Linked DNA regions of Homo sapiens: regions 2 and 3 are each linked to region 1. Evidence: promoter capture Hi-C in 16 types of primary human blood cells and fetal thymus (Javierre and others, 2016). All regions are on one chromosome and are shown on one strand. Each heading gives the region's core, a stretch centred on a gene start or on the middle of the fragment in contact. The rest is flanking DNA. Distances are from core to core; before and after follow the strand shown. Region 1 holds the start of FBL (fibrillarin). Region 2 holds the start of AKT2 (AKT serine/threonine kinase 2). Region 3 holds the start of MAP3K10 (mitogen-activated protein kinase kinase kinase 10).

The links. The method cuts DNA at HindIII sites, captures the fragments that hold promoters and counts their contacts. A CHiCAGO score of 5 or more calls a contact.
Region 2: a contact is called between the fragment with the promoter of AKT2 here and the fragment with the promoter of FBL in region 1, in 17 of 17 cell types (neutrophils, monocytes, total B cells and 14 more). The highest score is 18.9, in neutrophils.
Region 3: a fragment that was not itself captured here is called in contact with the fragment with the promoter of FBL in region 1 in 6 of 17 cell types (fetal thymus, neutrophils, total B cells and 3 more); the score reaches 8.3 in fetal thymus.

Annotation. Positions count from the first base shown.
Region 1 is chr19:39,843,499-39,848,279 of GRCh38, forward strand. It overlaps FBL (fibrillarin), which reads right to left and starts at 2,881. Exons shown (of 9, transcript NM_001436.4): 1 at 2,793-2,881. The coding sequence starts at 2,802. RefSeq lists an enhancer at 1,686-2,426. The HindIII fragment of the contact is 4,240 bases long and covers 1,216-4,781 here.
Region 2 is chr19:40,283,374-40,288,154 of GRCh38, forward strand. It overlaps AKT2 (AKT serine/threonine kinase 2), which reads right to left and starts at 1,972. Exons shown (of 14, transcript NM_001626.6): 1 at 1,808-1,972. RefSeq lists enhancers at 997-1,136, 2,293-3,124 and a silencer at 1,507-2,006. The HindIII fragment of the contact is 30,037 bases long and covers 1-4,781 here.
Region 3 is chr19:40,186,666-40,191,446 of GRCh38, forward strand. MAP3K10 (mitogen-activated protein kinase kinase kinase 10) reads left to right here and starts at 4,761. Exons shown (of 10, transcript NM_002446.4): 1 at 4,761-4,781. RefSeq lists an enhancer at 3,989-4,228 and a silencer at 4,389-4,781. The HindIII fragment of the contact is 1,448 bases long and covers 2,008-3,455 here.

The sequences.
Region 1 (4,781 bases), core at 1,631-4,130:
ATAGCTCATGCCTGTAATCCCAGCACTTTGGGAGACCCAGGCAGGCGGACAGTTTGAGGCCAGGAGTTCAAGACCAGCCTGGCCAACATAGTGAAACCCTGTCTCTACTAAAAATACAAAAAATTAGCTGGGCGTGGTGGCGCATGCCTGTAATCCCAGCTACTCAAAAGGCTGAGGCACAAGCATCAATTGAACACAGGCGGAGGTTGCAGTGAGCTGAGATGGTGCCACTGCACTCCAGCCTGGGTGACAGAGAGAGATTCTGTATCAAAAAAATAAAAATAAAAAAAATGCAGTGCTCATCCTATAGGGTTGTAAAGATTAAATGACTTGTACCCACAGAGCACATCACATATATACTATCTGGCACCTACTTTGAACATCATCATTCAAACTCAGGGGTACGCGTCTCCTCTTCCCTCCTCATGTACCAAAAGTACCCATTCCTCAGAAAAAACACATGTTCACACAAACTTTTCCAGTTAGTTCTTTTTTCATCTTTCTATTAAAGATGAAAATGTAACTTTTAATAGCTACTCCTAATTTGATCTTTTAAAATGAAGTTTCCTTTTCAAAACTCTAGAACATAACTAAGAGTTGTTCACTTTTTAATGTTCTACTCCCCCTACAGTCCACTTTCCACACAGCAACTAATAAGTGCTGTTTTTGAAACAGCAACTCAGATCTCAATTTTCTTGCCCAAGCCCTCCAACAGTTTTCCAAAGCCAAGACCTTCATTTAGGGGAGATGCCACAGCTAGGCTTATGAAAGTCTCAACCCAGGCCTAACAGAAAGGAAGTACTGGCATGTGCTTGGGGCGGAGTGGGCATGAGTGTAAACTTTCAATCCCAGATACTCAAAACATCTCAATCCGTTTCAGGTCCTGGAGCTTTTGGGGGAAAATGTACCAAAAGTACCCAGTCCTCAGAAAAAACACATGTTCACACAAACTTTTCCAGTAAGTTCTTTTTTTGGGGGGAGGGGGGTCCATAAACCCCCTGATTTAAAATCTGCTCTCCTTCCACAGCCTTCTCCATCTCAAAAATGGCAATTCCATCCTTCCAGTTACACACCCCCAAACCCTTGGTTATCCTTGACTCCGATCACACACCCACATACAATCTGTTGGTTCTGTCTTCAAAAGCATGTAAAACTGTCAGCATGTCCACTGCTCCCATCCTGGTCCACCACACCATCTCCTAGATTACAGCAACAAGCTTCCCACCAATGTGCCTGCTTCCACTTTTGCCACCCTGAGGTCTTTCACACATCGAAGCAAAAAGAATCCCTTTTAAAAATGTCAGACTGCACCACGCCCCTGCTCAAAAATCTCCCAAAGGGTTCTTTTCTCACTCAGGCTAAAATCCTTACTAAAGAGCTAACACCTGACAACTTTTACAACTTCACATTCTACCACACATGGAGGAAGGTTGGAAGAACGGGTATCCTCCATTTATGAGGGAATCACAGACCAGAATGCCTGCAGGCAAGCCAGGATCTCAGCATACCTGGCCTACAATCCCCCACCCCACTTCATCAAGAGATCCCCAAACACGGAAGAGAAAGGGAACTTGGGAGAAGGGCACAGATCCACAAATCTCCTGCCAGGTGACCCCCATCTCTCCACACAAACACACACACAAAAGAAAAAGAAAGCCTGTACTAGGAAAACAGACCCTTTGGGCCATGGTGGAAATTCTCCAAACTCAATGAAGCAAGTTCTCACACAGATGAGTGCGGGTTGGGCAGGCCAGATGGAGGAAGTGCTCAGGCACCACCGAGAAGGATTCTAATGTTGTTCTCTTTGAGAAAGATAAAGGTAACAATTAGAGCTAATACTATTATATGTCAAGCACTGTGCTATTTTTTTTAACGTCGCTTAATCCTAACTGGCGCCATTTTATTGATGAGAAAACAGAGGCTCAGAGAGGTAAAGCCACTTGCCCAAGTTCACACAGCAGGCTAAGAAGCTGAGCAAGAGCTGACACACTGAACTGAGGCCCTTCTGCTGTCAAAGCCAGGACCCCCTCATCATTCCACCATGAAGGGAGTGGTTTCAGCAGAATCTAGTGGAAAATCTTAAGAATAAAACTACTTACCTCCTGTGACAACCACCCGCCCCACCACCCCAGACTAATGCCGAGCTTGTTAAGTCTCGTCCCGGAGGTGGAAATCTTAATCCCCAAATCTCCACTCCATCCCCGGGGATCCGCCCCACTGTAAGTGCAGAAGGCGGGAAAGTGAGCCGAAGAGCGCCGCACACGGCCAACCGGGGAGTCCTCATCCACTCCGGCCCACTCGGAAAAGCTGGGATGCGGGATAAGGGGATGGTGGTGGTGGCAGCGACAGGGAAGGCAAATGGGGGCTTCCCACACACAGCTCCAGGACCCAAGGTCAGGAACTCTCCATCTCCGACCCAAGCCTGATTCCCAAAACACGCCCAGCGATCCAAGACTCCAGATGCCTGAATCCAAACTCTAGCCCAAGACCCTTGAGTGCCGCCTCCTGCCCAATATCCAAAATCCCTATTAGACGGCCTCAATGAGACGAACCCCACGTCAACACCCCCAATGCCAGGCCCACGGCCTTCTTCGACTCACGACCGTGACCTCTGAAGCCAGTCACAAACCCCTAGACCTGCTGGAATCAGAATCCCCCTTCCCACAGGAGACTGGAACCCGTGCTCAGAACCCCTGCCCCCAGGCCAAGGCCCCACCCCTCCGATTCTGGCCTGGCACCCGGATTCCCGCCCGGCCTCCGTCCCTGACCCCGGACCCTCACCCCAGCCTGACCTGGCTTCATGGCGAGCCCTGGTTTGTGCGGCTCCGGAGTCCGCGGCGTTCACAACTCCACGAGTCCGGGGCTTTCGCACGTGGAAAAGAGCGCAGGCGCGCGGCGACGTGCGCTGCGTGACGCCACCCCGTAGTCCCGCCCCCGGGCCCCTTCCCCGCCCGGAGCTCGGCGCACGCGCAGTGAGCCTGGATTCTCGAGCCTGTCGACACGCAACCCGCTGCCCTCGCTCTCTGCCTTCCCAGCCTTTGCCTGTGCAGCGGTCGCCCTAAACTCGCTTCCGGTTTCCTCTTCCCCAATGCGAGCACCCCAATAATCAGGGCTCATAGCCTTCGCACGGGCTGTGCCCTCTTTTGTATTCCTAGCTAAATCCCTCTGGCCCCTGTACACCCAAAAAGGCTTCCCCAATACATTTCCAGCCCCAAGAACAGTGACCGACTCTGGGCTTCCATTCAAACATCCGAAAAACATTTACAGTGCACCTCGTGTGTACCAGGTGCTGTTCTAGGAGCTGGGAATACAGCGGTGTACGAGACATAAAAATCTCCACTCTCCTGGAGTTCATCTTTTTAATGGAGGAAATAGACACCAAACATGTTGAATGTTTGAAAGCGATAAGTGCTTTGGAGAAAATAACAGCAGGGAAAGGGGATAGAGATTTTGGAGGGCAAATGATTTTTGTTTTTTTGGCACGGTGGTCAAGGAATGCATCAGGAGACTTTTGAGCTAAAGGGCTGAAGGAAGTGAGGAGTGAGGCATGCACCTATCTAGGGGAAGAGAGTTCCAGGCAGGGAAAAGATCTGCAGATGCAGAGGCCCTGAGGAAGGAAAGATATGGGAAGTTGGAGAGACAATGAGGAGGGTGGGTGGGGCAAAGTGAGCAAGGTGGAGAGTAAGAGGAGATAAGGGCGGGTAGCTAACAAGGGCAGATTGTGCGGAGCTTTGTGGGACATAGTGAGGACTTAGGCAGTAAGATGGAACCATGGAAGGGTTCCAAGCAGAGAAGGAATGTGATCTGACACAGGTCCCTCTGGCTGCATGTGGGAAGCAGACTGCAGGAGTGAGGGTGAAAGCAGGAAAACCAAGGACTGGCTGCTGCCGTGAATCAGAAGAAAAGGATGGACAGATCAGAGTGGGGGCAGAGAGCGGCGTCAGGGGTCAACAGATTCTGCTTAAGTATTAAGAATTTTGGGCTTTGTAATTGTGTAATATCAGTATCCATCCCTATATTCATTCTGCAAAGCAAGACAACTGCTGTTATGAGAAGTTACCGAAAAACTCCAGAAGAACCTACCAGTCCAGAGCCTAGATGTTGACTCTGTTCCATTCACTGCTCTATCACTCTAGGCCTAGGACAGCCCTCTGGGTGCCCAGTAAATGTTTGTTGAATGAATGGATGGCCTCATACCGTTGTGAGTTCTCTGTGTACAGTGTTCCAGCTGTGGAATGCCACCAATTTGCACAGAAACATTCCTGAAAGATTGTTTAGATATTATGATGGAAAATCTGCTTAAACTTTTCAGAACCGGTCGGGGCAGTGGCTCACACCTGTAATCCAGGCACTTTGGGAGGCCGAGGCAGGAGGATCGCTTGAGCCCAGGAGCTTAAGGCCAGCCTGGGCTACAGAGTGAGACCTTATCTTTACAAAAAATAAAAAATTAGCTGGGTATGGTTGCTTGCACCTGTAGTCCCAGCTACTCAAGAGGCTGAGGCAGGAGGATCCTTTGAGCCCAGTAGGTCTAGGCTGAAATGAGCCATGACTGCACCACTACACTCCAGCCTGGGTCACAGAGCGACACCCCTGTCCCAAAACAAAAACAAAAACCAAACAAAAAAAACTTTTTAAAAACTATGAGATGAAATAGTTGAGTCTATTCTGGATTTCTAGATGTGCAATGATTCCAGTGGGTCCAATTCCGGATAATGTTACCTATTTCACATGGATTTTACTATTTGCCTTCTAATTAATATTTTTCTTCTAAAGGACAAAAG
Region 2 (4,781 bases), core at 722-3,221, 440 kb after region 1:
CAGGAGAGGACCAGAGGAACAAACCCCTAGTGGAGAAAGATTCTACAGAGTCGCCGCTGCCTCACAGACTGTGGGACCTTTCTCTCCAGGAACCACGAGCCACGGAAGCCAGTCAGCTTGGAAGTCACTGCTGCGGACTAGGGGCAACCATCTGCCCCCTCTGACCACATCACCAGCCCAGGTCTGCTGGGTCAATCAGGGACTGCAGCCAGTCCTCTGGGAACTCCAGACCCAGAGCAAAGGCTACAGGGCAAGCCAAGGTCATGATCTGGCCTAGGGAGCAGGGACACTGGCCACAGACCTCTGGGGCTGGCTGCTCCCAGCACCAGCCCACAGACCACAATAAGACACCAGATCCATGGGGGATCTGACTGTCCCAAGCCCTTCAGAGCAGCCTTCCTCCCTGGGCCAGGCTGGGCCAGGGGCACCCCCACTCCAAGTCCCCTTGGCCTATGCAAAGAGGAACAGCTGGGAAAACAGCTCCCGGCCTCACTGCAAGGCCAACTGTTACTGCCTTGGTGGGGAGTGTAAACATGATGTGTGACCGAGCTGGTAACTGGGAGACACAAACAGCTTCGTGGCCAGCGACAGAGGAGCATGTAGTGGTCTGCGTTGGTTCCTGGACCCTTCACATCCACTGCCAACCAAGTTCAGCCCACGAGTGAACTCCTGCTGCTTCTCTGGGAAGGTAGGAGTGGATGAAGTTGAAAAGCAGCCCATTGGAGGCTCTAGTTACTCCAGCCCAGGCGTCTTGCTGAGCCCCAAGAGGTCTCCAAATGAGAGGAAGAGGTCCTCACAATCCCAAGATCAAGATGCCCCCAGAGAGCTTCCCTGGGGGGAAGAGGTGTTCCCCCAAACACTCCTTCCTCCCAAGTTTTAACAAGCGGGTGCAGGGGCACGGCTCCTCAAATCCAAGCCCAATCCCTCTTCCTCTTCAGAATGTTAAGGCTCAGACAACTTCAGTGACTTCTAACACAGCTTTCCTCCCTCCCCTATGGAAGGAAAGAACTGTTACTGCCTGGTAAATAATCTGAGAGGGTAATGGAATCCAGAGCAGCACCTCCATGGTCCAAAGCACCCCAGTAACCATGACGTTCCCTCCAGAGTCGTTAAGAAGTTCAATAAAGGCTGAGATCAGTGTAAACCCCCAACGCCACACACGTCAAATACAGGAAACAGAAACCCCTCCTCACCAATCGGCATCACAGTCCTCCCAAAATACGCCCCTAAAACCCACTAGGGCCTGTCCCGCCCCGTCCCAGTCCCTTAAAGATCACAAACATCACAGTCCTCTGATTTGGGTTCCCCTACGTTCTAAGCAGGGCTCCCCCAACGCCGTGGTGATATAACCCAGCCACAGTTGGGGAAGCATCCTCCCCAGAAGCCCCCACCCCTGTAAATACAGCACAGCAACGGCTTCCACAGCGCCAAAAAGGTACAGCCCTCTACACTTGATGCGGCGCGCCCCCTCGATAGCTTAGCCCGCGCACGCCAGGCTCGATCTGCCCGCCGCGCCCGAAAGGTCCAGCCCCCGGCCCGCGCACGCTGCGGCCTGCGCTCCCCGTCCCGCAAACTTGCAGCGCTCCCCCCACCGCCTCAGTGGTATGGCCCGCCGCCACCGCCCCGGCCCCCCGAGGCTGGTCCCACCGCCCCCGCTCGGCCACCCCCACTCAGCTCCTGAAGGAGGGGCTCGAGGGCCGCGGTCCCCCCGCCGGGCACGGGTGGTACAGCCCATCGCGGCACCGCGGGGGGCCCGGACGCGACCATCGTGGGGGGGGCGTTCGGGGACACGCGCTGGCGCACTCACCTGTCACCGGCAGCCGCCCAGCCTCTCCGGCGGGGCTCTACCCCCGCCCATCGCCACGCTGCGCTGGTTCCCTTTCCTTGTGTTTCCCGGCAGCGGCAACGGCGCCGGCAGCGGCAGCGGCGGCGGCGACGCCTCCTCCGAGGCAGGCCCAACGGCTAGCACGGCGCGGCCCCCCCCGCCCCCTCCCCCCAGCCCCCGCTTACCGCCCCCTCCCACCCTCTGGACGGAAATACCGCCCTCTCGCGCCACAAACAGGAAGTGACGTACAAAGAGCCAGAGACGAACTCTGAGAGAGCGAGAGCGCAAGAGCAGGGCAGAGAAGGAGGCGGGCTCACAGCAGGGCGCCTGCGCACATTAGACAACTTTGGGCCTGTGTGGGTTAGAGATGGGCCTCGCTAGGCCGTGGGGCGGAAAGGCGAGATGGGGCTACGCAGGCGCACTAGGACTCCGACGTCTGCTTTCCCTAGGGCCTAGCCGTAGTGATTATTTCCCGGCAGCCCCTAGTCCGTATTTACATACGCTTTGATCTTGTTTTACTCAGTTCTGGGTTCTGACGCTCTTAAAGGACCCCGGAGCGGGAGTTAGTTAGGAGGGGTTTCCTTTTCAGTGTGCTCGTCATGGTTGAGCTCAGGCTCTGAAGCCACACAACCCCAGACTTGAATTTCCTCCTTTCTGGTGACTGTGGGCAGAAGGCTTGACCGTTTTCTGTGCCTCAGTATCCACATCTGCTAAATGGAAACAATCATCGCTGTGTCGCTGGCTTTTGAACCATTTTAATGTAAACAAAACGGTTTTTACCAATTAGTTCATTACTGCAAGATATTAATGCCACCTGCTCTCATCGTACATATTCCAGTGAATCTGGGATATAACATTTTATAATGCAACTTGGGCCCATAAAGGCCTTAAAATCACCCTGCGGCCGGGCGCGGTGGCTCACTCCTGTAATCCTAGCACTTGGGGAGGCCAAGGCAGACGGATCATGAGGTCAGGAGTTCGAGACAGCCTGGCCAACATAGTGAAACCCCGTCTCTACTCAAAATACAAAAAAAAAAAAAAAAGCCGGGCATGTCGGTGTGTGCCTGTAATCCCAACTACTTGGGAGGCTTGAGGCAGGAGAATCGCGTGAACCCGGGAGGCAGAGGTTTCAGTGAGCCGAGATCATGCCATTGCACTCCGGCCCGGGCGACAGTGCAAGTCTCCGTCTCAAAAAAAAAAAAAAAAAAGAAAAGAAAGAAAAAAGAAAAAAAATGACCCTGCAAGAAAAGAGCTTTGCACAGATCCTAATCCGTATATTAGCTAGTATACTGGACAGCTGTGAGACATCTGGCTCCCAGCCCCTCCTCTCTCATAGGGGATTGTGCTGCCTCCTGAATTTGGGTTCCAGTATGCCATATAACTTGGCAATTGTATGCATTGGTAAGTGAGAAAAATGCCTGACTGAGAGTTGAATCCTGGGTCCACCTCAGTCTGTGAGAGTGTTTCAGGCAAATCCTGCTGAGGGTTCGGCTTTCGTTTTCTGAGACGTAAACCTAATGCTGGAACTAGCCCTTTCTTATTTGGTTTCTAGCTTGGAACTTGCTGCTTGGTATTCCTAATTCCCGGTCTTCCCCATCAGTCGGTGTTAATAACTCTGACCAATGCCTCCCCCTTCACAGCCCTAACCATTTTCATCTATTACTGTCTGGTGACAGGTCTGTTTCCCCCACTGCACAGGAAACACAGTAAAGGAAGAGACCAAGACTGTCTCAGAGATCAGTGTGTATCCAACATTGCCCAGAGTGGGCTCTTGCAGAATGTTTGTTTCAAGCATTAGCCCTTCTGCCCTAATCTAGACTCAAGGTTACTGTGACCAACCCTCTTCACTCCTGTCCACACTGAACAGCTCACAGGCCATTCCCCTACGTCTAAGTCTCCCCTGGGCCAACTTGAATCCTAGCCCCTCCTAGGGCACTTAATTATGACACACTGAGATCTCACTGAAACCACCCATGTGCTTGTGTATAAACTCCTTGCAGCACTGGTAGTCAAGGGCAGTGGCTTTCTCTTTTTTTTTTTTTTTTTTTTTGAGACTCACTGCATCGCCAGGCTGGAGTGCAGTGGCGAGATCTTGGCTCACTGCAACCTCTGCCCTCTGCCTCCCAGGTTCAAGCGATTCTCCTGCCTCGGCCTCCTGAGTAGCTGGGATTACAGGCACGCGCCAACACGCCCAGCTAATTTTTTTGTATTTTTAGTAGAGAGGGGGTTTCACCATGTTGGCCAGGATAGTCTCCATCTCTTGACCTCGTGATCCACCTGCCTTGGCCTCCCAAAGTGCCGGGATAACAGGTGTGAGCCACTGCACCCGGCTCTTTCTGGTTTTGGTTTTTTATTGTTTTTTTGAGACAGGGTTTCACCCCCTCCGTCACCGAGGTTGAAATGCAGTGGCACAATCTCAGTTCACTGCAACCGACACCTCCCATGCTCAAGCGATCCTCCCACTTCGGCCTCCCAAGTACTGGGACCACAGATGTGCGCCACTATGCCCAGCTAATTTTTTTGTATTTTTGGTAGAGACGGAGTTTCGCCATGTTGCCCAGACTGGTCTCAGACTCCTGAGCTGAGGCGATCCACCCACCTTAGCCTCCCAAAGAACTGGGATTAGAGATGTGAGCCACCGCACTTGGCCTAATATTCTTTTTTTTTTTTTTTTTTTTTGACACAGTCTCACTCTGTCTCCCAGGCTGGAGTGCAGTGGTGCCATCCGCCATCTCGGCTCACTGAAACCTCCGCCTCCTAGGTTCAAGTGATTCTCCTGCCTCAGCCTCCTGAGTAGAGGGATTACAGGCGTGCACCACCACACCTGGCTAATTTTTGTATTTTTATTTATTTATTTATTTTTGAGTCTGAGTTTTGTTCTTGTTGCCCAGGCTGGAGTACAATAGCACGATCTCGGCTCACCACAACCTCCGCCTCCTGGGTTCAAGCGATTCTC
Region 3 (4,781 bases), core at 1,482-3,981, 340 kb after region 1:
TAGTAGCTTATGCCTGTAATCCCAGCTACTAGGGAGGCTGAGGCAGGAGAATCACTTGAACCCAGGAGGTGGAGGTTGCAGTGAGCCAAGATTGTGCCACTGCACTCCAGCCTGGGCGACAGAGCGAGACTCCATCTTAAAAAAAGATTAAAAAATAAAAAGTTGACTTGATATTAGTCAAGGGATACAAAATATCAGTTATGCAAGATGAATAAGTTCTAGAGATCTAATGTACAATGACACGACTATCGTTAATAAGATTTTATTGTATACTTGAAATTTGTTATAAGGGTAGGTCTTAAGTGTTCTCACCACAAAAAAAAAAAAAAGCTCCCCAACTCATTGAATAGGGCTAGCATTCCGCCAATGTCAAAACTAGGCAAGAATAACACCAGAAAATTCCATTTATGAAAACAAATGCAGGCCAGGCACAGTGGCTCATGCCTGTAATCCCAGCACCTTGGGAGGCCAAGGCAGGTGGATTCCTTGAGGCCAGGATTTGGAGACCACTCCGGCCAACATGGCAAAACCCCATGTCTACTAAAAATGTAACAATTAGCTGGGCACAGTGGCATGCGCCTATAGTCTCAGCTCTGGAGGCTGAGGTGGGAGAATCGCTTGAACCCAGGAGGTGGGTGAGCTGAGATATCACCACTGCACTATAGCCTGGATGACACAGCAAGGCTGTCTCAAAAAAAAAAAAAAAAGAAAAGAAAAGAAAAGAAATGCAAAACAACCCTAAATAAAGTATTATTAAATCAAATCCAGCAATGGTGAAAGCAAGAAAGAGGAGATAATCAACATTAATGGATTAAAGGCAGAAAAACCATCTGATTGCATAAATAAATGCATAAAAAGCATTTGATAAAATGTAACACCTGCATTTAAAAAAGAAAGAAAGAAAGAAAGAAAGAAAAATCTCTAGCAAGTTAGGAATAGAACCTGATAAAGGACTTCTACTAGAAATCTACTGAAAGCATCATATTTAATGATGAAACCTTAGGATCATTCCCTTAAATGTCTAGGACAAGACAAGAATTGTCCATTAATACCACTGCCATTCAACATTGTATTGGAACTCCTAGCCAAAGAGGAGAGGATTAAGAAAAAAAGCATAGACATCAGATTTTTTAAAGCTGTAATTTTTTTCTTTTTTCTGGACAACAGGATCATCTAGCTAGAAAATCGAAGAGAATTATCTGTCAAGCTATTCTAGAACAAGCAAGAGTGAGTTCAACAAGGCAGCCAAATCCAAGATAATTTTTTTTCTTTTTTTTTTTGAGATGGAGTCTCACTCTGTCACCAGGCTGGAGTGCAGTGGCGCAATCTCGGCTCACTGCAACCTCTGCCACCCGGTTCAAGCGATTCCCCTGCCTCAGCCTCCCGAGCAGCTGGGATTACAGGTGACTGCCACCATGCCCTGACTAAATTTGTATTTTTAGTAGAGACAGGGTTTCACCATGTTGGCCAGGCTGGTCTTGAACTCCTGACCTTGTGATCCACCCGCCTTGGCCTCCCAAAGTGCTGGGATTACAGGCGTGAGCCACCGCACCGGGCCCAGAGACAACCTGTTCTGCAGCCCATTTGCTTCTTCCAGAGTCTCCCTCTGTCGTCCGGGCTAGAGTACACTGGCTCGATCTCGGCTCACTGCAACCTCCGCCTCCCAGGTTCAAGCGATTCTCCTGCCTCAGCCTCCTGAGTAGCTGAGATTACAGGCACCTGCCACCACGCCTGGCTAATTTTTGTATTTTTAGTAGAGATGAGGTTTCACCATGTTGTCCAGGCTGGTCTCAAACTCCTGACCTCAGGTGATTTGCCTGCCTCAGCCTCCCAAAGTGCTGCGATTACAGGTGTGTGAGCCACCGCCCCCACCCTCTATTTGCTTCTTTGAGATGAATCACCCCATAAATGATTGGTAAACAGAGTAATGATGTCAGCATAACACAAGCATGTTGGTTAACATGCAATTTTCTCCAGGAAGTTAACATTTTGAAGCAATCAGGGCCAAGCTTTCTCACAGTTAAAGGGGAAGCCTTAGTACTAAAAGAAGATCTTCAGAGGAAAAAGCTGCAAATCTACAGAAGTGTCTTCCTTTGGATCCACGGTGGCTGGTTTAGTGACTTCAAAGACCACCATATTTGTCACAGTGTTATGCCTATGGCAAATCCATGAATGCAGATGAAGAAATTGCAAATATATTTCTCCCATATTAAAATAACAGATTAATGAAAAAGATCACACCTTGGATCACATTTCGAGTTTTGATGAAAATGATCCCCATCAATAGTTAATATCTCCAACCAGCATCCCCAAAGAGGAAGCATAAGCCCCACCTTCAAGGCTGCAAAGTGCTGCTGAAAGCAAATGCTCATGGAAATTTACCTATTCTAGTGTTTCTATTAGCATCATTATTGGTTTTGTAGCACTCTGAATATAAAGTTGTATACAAGAGGCCGGGCATGGTGCCTCACACCTGTAATCCCAGCACTTTGAGAGGCCAAGGCGGGCGGATCACGAGGTCAGGAGATCGAGACTATCCTGGCCAACATGGTGAAACCCTGTCTCTACTAAAAATACAAAAATTAGCTGGGCATGGTGGCGCCCACCTGTAATTCCAACTACTCGGAAGGCTGAAGCAGGAGAATCACTTGAACCAGGGAGTCGGAGGTTGTGGTATGCCAAGACCGTGCCACTGCACTCCAGCCTGGCAACAGAGTGAGACTCCATCTCAAAAAAAAAAAAAGTTGTATACAGGTTTTTATTTTTACTTTTTTTTTTTTGAGTCAGGGTCTCGCTCTGTCTCTCAGGCTGGAGTGCAGTCAGTGCCACAATCACAGCTCACAGTAGCCTCGACCTCCTGGGCTCAGGTAATACCCCTATACCTCAGTCTCCCGAGTAGCTGGGAACACAGGTGCACACCACCACACCCGCCTAATTTTTTATTTTTTTGTAGAGACGGAGTCTCCCTATGTTGCCCAGGCTAGTCTGAAACTCCTGGACTCCAGTAATTCTCCCTCCTCGGCCTCTGAAAGTGCTGGGATTACAGGCATGAGCCACCGTGCCCAGCTAGTTGCATATATTTTGAGCAATCTGTCTCTAACTCTATTTTTTCCATGAAGTCTTGTTAATTTTAGTGCACCGTTTTGAAGAACTGAAGGTTTTTTAAGAATGCATATAGCAGGTTATAGCAGAAACACTTATACTCAGAATGAAGCTGGGGCTCTCTCTTCCAACAAGCATTTTTGATATGCTCCGAGTGTCCCTGCTAGGTAGCCAGGAGACCAGGTAACCCACTTCCCTCTGACAATGGAACAATTCCCCAAGGACCCTGAGGGGCAGTTCTCTGGAGTTTGGGCACTAGAGTCCCTCTTATTTCCTCTTCTTCTCTCCTCCCTCTAGACCCCATACCACTCAGGAGAGGCCAAGTAAAAAGACCCAGAATTTTGCCTCTTACAAGCTTAGAGATCTTGAAGAAGTCACTGAACCTCTGCGGGACCTACTTTCCTCATTCTTTAAATAGAAAGGCAGTGGGTTTTTTGTTTGTTTGTTTTTTGTTGTTTTTTTTTTTGTTGTTGTTGTTTTTGTTAATCGTGGCGATGGTTATTTATTTATTTATTTATTTTGAGACGGAGTCTTGCCCTGTCGTCCAGGCTGGAGTGCTGTGGCGTGATCTTGGCTCACTGCAACCTCCACCTCCCAGGTTCAAGCGATTCTCCTGCCTCAGCCTCCCGAGTAGCTGGGATAGATTACAGGCGCACACCACCACGCCCGGCTAATTTTTTTTTTTTTTTTTAAATAGTAGAGACGGGGGTTTCACCATGCTGGCCAGGCTGGTCACGAACTCCTGGCCTCGTGATCCGCCCGCCTTGGCCTCCCATAGCGCTGAGATTACAGGCGTGAGCCACCGCGCCCGGCCTGGTTGTTAATTTTTAAAACTGCCTTTCATTTTTGCTTTGCCATTTATAGCTCTGTAGCCTTGCACAAATGACTTCACTTCTCTATGAGTCATCTGTAAAATGGGGCTCTTTGTGAAGACTTAACGATACCACGTGTACAAAGCACTGAATACAACATGCACATTAAGCTCCCCGAAATTGAAACTCCTATAAAATAGGAATCGGGGATTCTCAAGAGCAGGAGTTCTGACTTCAGCAGAGGAACCCAGAGCTGGTGGGGAAAGCAGACGTGGCTGTGACATCCCCAGGGACACTAAACACATCCTCCCAGCCCCATCTTCCCCGCAGAGTCCCGCCACCGGCCCGACCCCTAACTTGCTCCAACCACCCGCCGACGCCCGCAGCCCGCTGTTTGGGGGCCGCCCCCTGCAGCGCCAGGTCCCCGCGCGGACTACAGTTCCCAGCGTACATCTCGGTCGGGGGGTCCGAGGGGCCGTCCTGCCTCAGGGATAAGGTCCAGGCTGCGTTCGCGGCTCCGGGCAGTCACAGTCATGCACGCAGCTCCTATTTTTCGCGTTGCTAATCGCGTCCGTTGCAGTCCAACCCATCCTGGGCCGCGGCCCCCACAGGGTCTGTGAGGAGCGCTTCCCCCCGCCCCGGGCGCCCGCTACGCCGCGTCCGAAGGAGGGGCCGAGGCCGGGCTCATCTCCCCGGGAGGACTCCTTCGGCTTCGTGGGGTGTCATGTCCATTGCGGCCCGAGGCTGGCCGCGGGGCTCTGCTGGAGGGCGCTGAGAGCCGGGCCCCGAGGCCGCACGGCCGGAGACTACAACTCCCAGGAGGCACCGCGGCGGCGGCGCCCACACGTCACTCGGGCCCCGCCGGTG